2 separate regions of the Homo sapiens genome follow, and region 2 is linked to region 1. The links are contacts of gene promoters, found by promoter capture Hi-C in human tissues and cell types (Jung and others, 2019). All regions are on one chromosome and are shown on one strand. Each heading gives the region's core, a stretch centred on a gene start or on the middle of the fragment in contact. The rest is flanking DNA. Distances are from core to core; before and after follow the strand shown. Region 1 holds the start of ZNF516 (zinc finger protein 516). Region 2 overlaps ZNF407 (zinc finger protein 407).

Region 1 (3,764 bases), core at 693-3,192:
AGAAAGAAGGAGGGGTCATTCCGCGGGGGGCGGGGGGGGGGGCGGGGGCCGACGCAGGGGAAAGAGTTGCTCTCTACACCGAAAAGGGACTTTGACCTTCCATTGATCTCGAAATTCAAAAACGTTTCTTCACAGGTCAGATTGTAACAAACACTCGTTCCTAATTTATGAACTCGCCGTTTTGATTTTATTATTTAAGCATGCGCCAGCAATCGTGTTTCCTTAAGAAAGAACTGACCTATTTTTGGCTGGAGATAAACGATCATGTTAACAGATGTTAATCTTGTAATCTGTTTTTCCTGTAAGCACTTTACCTAGCCGGGTTTCAGACCTTAAAAATAACATCTTTTCCAAAAAGACCTGACGTCACAATTCACTCCCTGAAAAATCACACTCCCCCTCCAGTTTCTTCCCCTGCAATGATTTCAAAGACATTAAATCTTTTCCACTTTATAAATGCTGATCTGTTCTGCCTCTACTCCCACAGGCTCTTATTTGCATTTCAAATTCCACAGGTTACACCAGTCGCCTTTTCAAAAAATGTAAACCAACAATGCAGCAGCAAATGGCTTTTTGTGCATCTGGATTAAATAAAGCACAGAATGAATATATTTAAAAAGAGGGCTGCGCAAGTTGATCTTTGCACACCCGGAGACCCGGTGACTCTTTATCAGCGGAATGAGTAAGACACACACACAGCCCCCAGAGCTCCCGGTCTGCTGCGGGAAGCTTATTAACGCTGATAATAGATGAGGCTGACTTACAGACCCACATTTTTCGGGTAAAAGGCTGGTTCCCTCTGGTCCCTAATTGCGGGGGTCCACTGGCTTTCCTCACCACACACATAAACTGCTGCTTTTAAATACCCCACTCGGCTGCCATTTAACAAACTTATTCATACAAAGTTTCGTTAAAACTTGAGGCGGTTTAATCTAAATACTGATCGTAACTATTCAGTCTGTTAGTTCTCCCTGGAAATGGCAGCGGAGGCGCCTCCCCCCACCTCCCGCCCAACCACACACACCCCACCGCATTCTTCCTTCATACACCCGGGTTCATCTCGCCACCGAGGCCTCCCCCACCCGCACCCGGCGGGGCGCAGCTCCGAGGAGTCCCTGCCCACCCCTCTCCGAGTCGGTGCCAGACCCTCGCCCCCACCCCCACCCCCGCCCGAACTTCCCTTCCAGGACCTCTCACTTCTTTAACGTTAGGGTCACTTAGAAGCTCCCAGCAGACTGGCAAGCAGCCGGGGAGGGGGCCGTAAAAAACAAGGCCACCCCCACCTCCACGCAAACACGTCCCCTAGGCAGCAGCGCGCGGTGCCCACAGGCATCGATCCCATCCGCCAAACCCTTAATAATTGAAGCGGCTCCTCGGGCCCGCAGCCCCATCACCCACCTTCATTAGCCGGAGCGTTTTACTTTAAAGTAAGGCAATTTGCTCTTTGTCTCCTAATGGATGGAGAGCGCATCCGAGCTCCCCTCCTCCCGCGTCGCCTTTGACAAAGTGTACAAAGCCAGAGCCTCTTCCGCGCTCCCACCCCGGCCCCCACCCCGCCCCTCCACTGCGGTAAAAACCACCTCCCGGGCGCTCGCCCCGCCGCCCGAAGTTGCATCTTCCCCTATCCTGGAATTGACGAGCAGAGCAACTACCCACCGGGAAAGCCAAGTAGCCCTCCCCGCGCCCGGGGGGCCCCTCCCCGGCGCACCCCCCTCCCCAGCGCCTCCCCCCCTACCCCCAGCGGCGCACACCAGAGTACGGGGCACGTCGGGGCTCCGGGCCCCGCGCCCACCGCCCGCCCGCGGCCCCTGCGGCGCAGCCCTCCCCCCGCCCGCGGCCCCTACCTTGGCAGGGAGGCGGCGGGCCTGGGGAGGAGGACGCGCACGCCCCGCGCATCTGAAGGTGAAGCCGAGCGCCCGCGGCGCGGAGCCGAGCGCTGCACTAGACCGACCGCGCCAGCTGCGCCCGGGCGCGGGGGACGCGCGAGGGCGCGCGGGGCCCGCCACGCGCCCGGCCCCCTCCTCGCGCCGCCCGCGCGCGCCCCGGACGCGTCCGCCCCGCGGGGGCCCCGGCGCGAGCCGGGCTCGGGGGGCTGCGCGGCACGGGGAGGGGGCCGGGCGCTCACGGCCCGGCGCAGGCCGGAGGCTTCCCCCAGCCTGGAAATGGTCTGCCCTGTAGGAAACGCACACTCCACTATTGTCTCATCAGCACAAAGTTCTGCCACACTGAGGGGACAGTCTGGAGGCTTGCAGTGACTCAGACACAGCCAATTCCTCCCCTAATAGCACTGAATCACGGTTCCAGCGGCCAGTGGTCGCCCCTCGTCAAGGTCTAAGGCTGCTGCAGCCCCGGCTCCCGGAGGCCGTTTCCGCGCGCACACGCGCATCCATACGTACAGACGTGCTCGGGATGCGGGTCCCGCCGGCGGGTACCTGGGCACTGCGCCCCATCTGGACTGAAATGGGGACACCCCTTCGGGGGTCCCAGGTGCGTGTGCATTACACACGGCGTAGCGTGTGCGTGTCACTCAACTTCCTGGTAAATGCCTCTGGGGGTGTTCAGATGCAGGATCAATACATTAAGTCCTGAATCAAGGGTCACAGAGGTCCCGCTGGAAAGACTTCAAACAGCGGCTCTGCCACCCGGCCATTTAAAAATGAAGGGGTTGTTTACCGGTAGCCTCGAAAGTTCAACTCTTATTTTTCTGTTCTTAAAACTTCATTTCTTCACCTCACCTACTCCCCACGAGCAGTAGTTAGTTGTAATAAGTTGAGTCTGGGACTAGAAATCCTAATTTGACTCCAAAACGCTCTCCTGTTACAGGGCAGGGATGGCCGGGGTGGGGGAGGGGAGGGCGGGCGCGCGGGGGCGGGGGAGGGGCGGGTCGGAGCTAGCGAGGGCGAGCGCCCCTTCACGGCCGGTGACGTAGACCCGGGGAGCTGCGGCCTGCGGAGGGGTAACACTATCTTCTCCCACCAGGCTCCTGGCCGTATTGTTCTCCTTCTCCTCGTGATAACTCCGCAGTGGAGGTGGATTCCGTCCAAGACGCCCAACGTGGCTCCGCGTAGCAATCAGCGCTGCAATCCTGGCGGTTACCTCAGCGGCGGCGTCTCTCTCTGCGCCTCACACTCGCAGCCCGCGGCCCTCCCCAACTTAGGGCGTTTACAAAAGAAACTACTCCAGACGCGCTGCAAAGGGAGGCGCATGTGCCCGAAAGCTGGCGATCAGACGGGGGGGGCATTCTGCATGTGTGATGTTTCTGGGGGCGGTGGGGAGTGTGTGTCGGGGTCGGGGGGCGGGGGGGAGTCAGGCAGAAAGACAGGGACAACCTCCGCTATGAAGGATCCGCGAGTCCTCAAATGTAAGCTCCGTGTGACTAACGACCTGCACTGATTTGGAGAGCGGGCATGTTAAAGGTCACGGACAATTGTTGCTGGCTTCAGCATGAATGCCTAAGTGGGATGTATTCTTCAGCAATCACGTTTAAGTCTGATTCACCGAAAAGTATTGACGTGCCCACCATTCATTTCAGTACACTGTGAAAATGCACAAAGAAAGTATCCCCAAATTCAGTTAATTACAAAGCCGTAAATGTCCTTGTATACACATATTATTACATACATGTAGGTAACAACAAAGATTAAAATTTGAAGACACTTTAATAGCTTTTTGGTAGGATTTTGGAATGAATATCAGTCCTGTAAACCTACGTTCATCTGCATTCTTGGGTCTATTTTAAAGTACAAACTTGCGCTAACAATTTC
Region 2 (3,403 bases), core at 470-2,969, 1.7 Mb before region 1:
GACATGTCAAAGTTATGTTTCATAAGTGTTGTTTAAGTATGTAGAAACAGAACATATTTGTAATTGCTATGTTTTCATTGCTTTCACATGCATTATCTCAGTCCTTCTTTGACCTTATTAGCAGTACATTATTATTCCAGTTTTATAGATCTAAGGACTGAGCCTAGAAAATACAATAATAATTTATTCAATATCTCATAAATAATAAATGATGGAACTGTTACTTTTCTGACTCTGATTTCAAAATAAATTTGAATGAAAACAGTGGAGATTGTGTAGTAAGAAGAAAATATTTCCCAACTGTACTTTTAAATAGTATATATTTTTAATTTAACTACATCATTTTGGTTTTTACTTAGAAATTTTTTTAAAAGTTGAAGAATTGTTCATATTGTTTCACAGGGAAAAGTTGATCTCCCCATATATGTGCATGTATGTATATATGTTCATGTATTAAACACCTTAAAATGCTAGAAATCCTCTATATATTACGAATTTGAGAATCAAAAATTTACTGTTTTTTTTTTTCATTTACCCTTTTCGTTACATTCTAGGATACTTTTTCTTTTCTTTAATATTTATTTCTGTCCTGAATACATAAAGGGAGATTAAAACTGAGGCAGGAGAAAGATTGAATTTCTCCCCTCTGACACATGGTAAGCCCTTCTCAGATATTGACACTGTTTTTGTCCTAACATCAAGAAAATCGCAAGTGGGAAAGCACACCCACCTTCTGGATCAGTACCTTTTAAGTACTTCAAGCAGCAACATTCTTCTAAACCAAACGTCTTTGACTGAATTGTTTTTCCTTTTAAAAATTCTTTGAGAGGACTTCTTGTTTTTGACGTCTGCTTATATGGCACTCTCTCCTGTTACAGAGAAATACTACACAGGAATGCCAGGACCCCAGCAGCAGTATAATTTTCCAGTAGACACCTGTAGCTAGAGCAAACCAAGATTTCAATGGTATAATCTAGAAGCAGAAATGCCAGTCTCCTTGTTTCCATTTCACCTTCCTCCCTTCCTTCTAGTGGTTTTAGGAAGCAAACCCTTCGTCAGTATGCTGGACCATCAGTCTGGGCACAACTGTTCTCTAAATTAAGTTAAATATTTTTCTTACCTATTTAAAACATTAAAGCCTTGGTTATACTTTTGCAAGCTTGCTGTATTTTAATTTCTCCAGGACAGTATAATCAGTTTTAAAAAATGTTTTTAATTTGATTCTCCATTCTAATGCATTGCATATTATAGCAAATAGTAATAGAAGTTAGCTAAATAGGCTGTGACAATTAAATTAATAATGCATTTTGTTTGCAAGTATTTAGGCCTTGTGCTTTGACTGATATATGCAAAAATTATAATTTATTAAAAATAAATCCATATACTTGTACTATAATGTTTGATGATCCAATAAATTTTGTCAGCATGGCTATCATTAGAAACAGAAAACTAAATTATTTCAAATATTTTCTTTGAGACTCTGTGAACACCTGAGGTGATGGCTTGTGTAAGATTATACTTTTTTGTTCCTACATCTGCATTAAATTATTTTAGTGCAGTATCCTACAGTATTTCTGAAATCCTACACACTTAAATTCAAACAATTACATATAACCACATTCAGTTCACATTCTAAAATAATAAACTCCAGTTAACTTGCAAGTTCATTTGAAAGTATTCGCTATTTTAAATGAGTAATTCTCTTTGTGGTATAAGTAAGCCAAAGCATCTTTATGACTCTTTGAATTGACTAATAGTAATCTAGAAAACGAGCTTATCTACAATTATCACAATTGGAACAGCCATACTAAGTATATCTTCTGTGAAAGCCAGGTGCAATTACAATGGAAGTGGATGGTATTCGTCGTTCAGTGCTGGAAATCAGCTGGGTTTTGAATGACTGTGTAAATAGGAGGACAGGGAAATGATTCGTGTAGAGCTTTGCATTTGATCCATTGCTTTTGTGGTGTCAGAGATGCTGTCAGGACATATCTGCACTGGCAGCATCTCAAGAAGGCTGATAAACTCAGAAAACTACCAAAGAAGAATTTTAAATTAGATGCGTGTGTCATAAAGTATAAGCGTTAAATAATTTCATAACCCAGGAAAAGTACTTGTGTTTTTACTGGTGAATATTCAGATCAAAACCTTACGTATTTCTTCCAGTGCAGCCATTTTTGTCGGAGTCTGTGAAGTTTCTTACCCTCAGTGCATTTTTGTTAGCATAGCTGTTGGGTGTGTTCAGGCTACTGGATTTGGCTCAGGGCTTCTTAGTATTTTTGCTCAGGCTAAGATTTCCTCTGGGGTCCTCCAGATTACTGAGCCCTGAAATTTGTGCTGGCCTCTCCCCTTTTATGAGACATTTGGGATATGGGGTTAGCTGTCTTTCTTTTAGCAGCACCATTGATCTTATTGATGAGTCAAATCTTTACCCCACCTAATGTAATTGCGGAGAGATGTCTCAGAGCCCTGATGCTTATTCTAATTTATTTGAAGCCAGTATAATAGGACATGGCATTGTATGGGTCTTTTGGAGACTCTTTTCTCTCCTTTTTCTCTATTTTCTCAAAAACTTGCATATTTATAAGTTGAAGTGGCATAAAAGCATCATTGCTATTTTTCAAGTTTACACAGGAGCGTCACCTTTTTTTTATGAAACATGAAAATATCTGAAACAGCAGCATCTGTGGAAAAGCGCATGCACCTGGCATGCACCTGGCATGCAGATGTCACTCACATGGCACACACATGTCACCCACATGGCACACACAGCATGTACATGGCATGCACATGTCACTCACATGGCATGCACATGGCCCACATGGCACACACGTCACTCACATGGCACGCACATGGCACTCACATGGGACACACATGTCACATGGCACACACGATGTCACTCACATGGCACACATGATGTGTGCAGTTGTGACTGATGCTTCACAGGGTTGTTTACAAGCTTAGATGATGTTATATGAGAAAAGCCATGCGTTTATAGAAACCCTGAGGAAATTATTGGGGAACAGATTAAATTTTTTCTTATTAGAAGATATTCTATTCATCATATATGACTGACCTCCGACGTCACAGTTGTCACTGTTTTCCACCTTAAAGAAATAACTTCTAAGTTGTTCTTGTTGCATATATTTCATTTTATTAAAGGGAAAACAGTTTTCCTCTATTCCTCCATAGTGAGTTTCTATAAGGTAAATACTGTTATCCATTTTATCATTGAAATGGGTGATTTATTCTAATGGATGTGTTGTGATAGTTTCTTCTCTCTGATATATTCTTCATGGGCTCCTTCTGGAATATTTTTTATGAAACTTTTCAGTCACCTCTGTGTCCAGGCTTCAGGCTCTCCCCTTTACCCACTACTTATTAGTCTTTCCCTTATTTCTTA

The links. Contacts are between HindIII fragments. The study calls those that stand out against the background at their distance.
Region 2: a contact is called between a fragment that was not itself captured here and the fragment with the promoter of ZNF516 in region 1, in 1 of the 25 tissues and cell types used here (dorsolateral prefrontal cortex).

What each region holds. Positions count from the first base shown.
Region 1 is chr18:76,493,300-76,497,063 of GRCh38, forward strand. ZNF516 (zinc finger protein 516) reads right to left here and starts at 1,943. Exons shown (of 7, transcript NM_014643.4): 1 at 1,845-1,943. It overlaps ZNF516-DT (ZNF516 divergent transcript), which reads left to right and starts at 2,040. Exons shown (of 2, transcript NR_164145.1): 1 at 2,040-2,487; 2 at 2,980-3,764. It overlaps ZNF516-AS1 (ZNF516 antisense RNA 1), which reads left to right. Exons shown (of 2, transcript NR_136504.1): 2 at 1-619. RefSeq lists silencers at 973-1,062, 1,763-1,862, 1,993-2,052. The HindIII fragment of the contact is 9,582 bases long and covers 1-3,764 here.
Region 2 is chr18:74,783,036-74,786,438 of GRCh38, forward strand. All of the region lies in intron 4 of ZNF407 (zinc finger protein 407), which reads left to right. Among named protein-coding and RNA genes, the nearest start is that of ZNF407, 190 kb to the left of the region's middle. The HindIII fragment of the contact is 4,029 bases long and covers 1-3,403 here.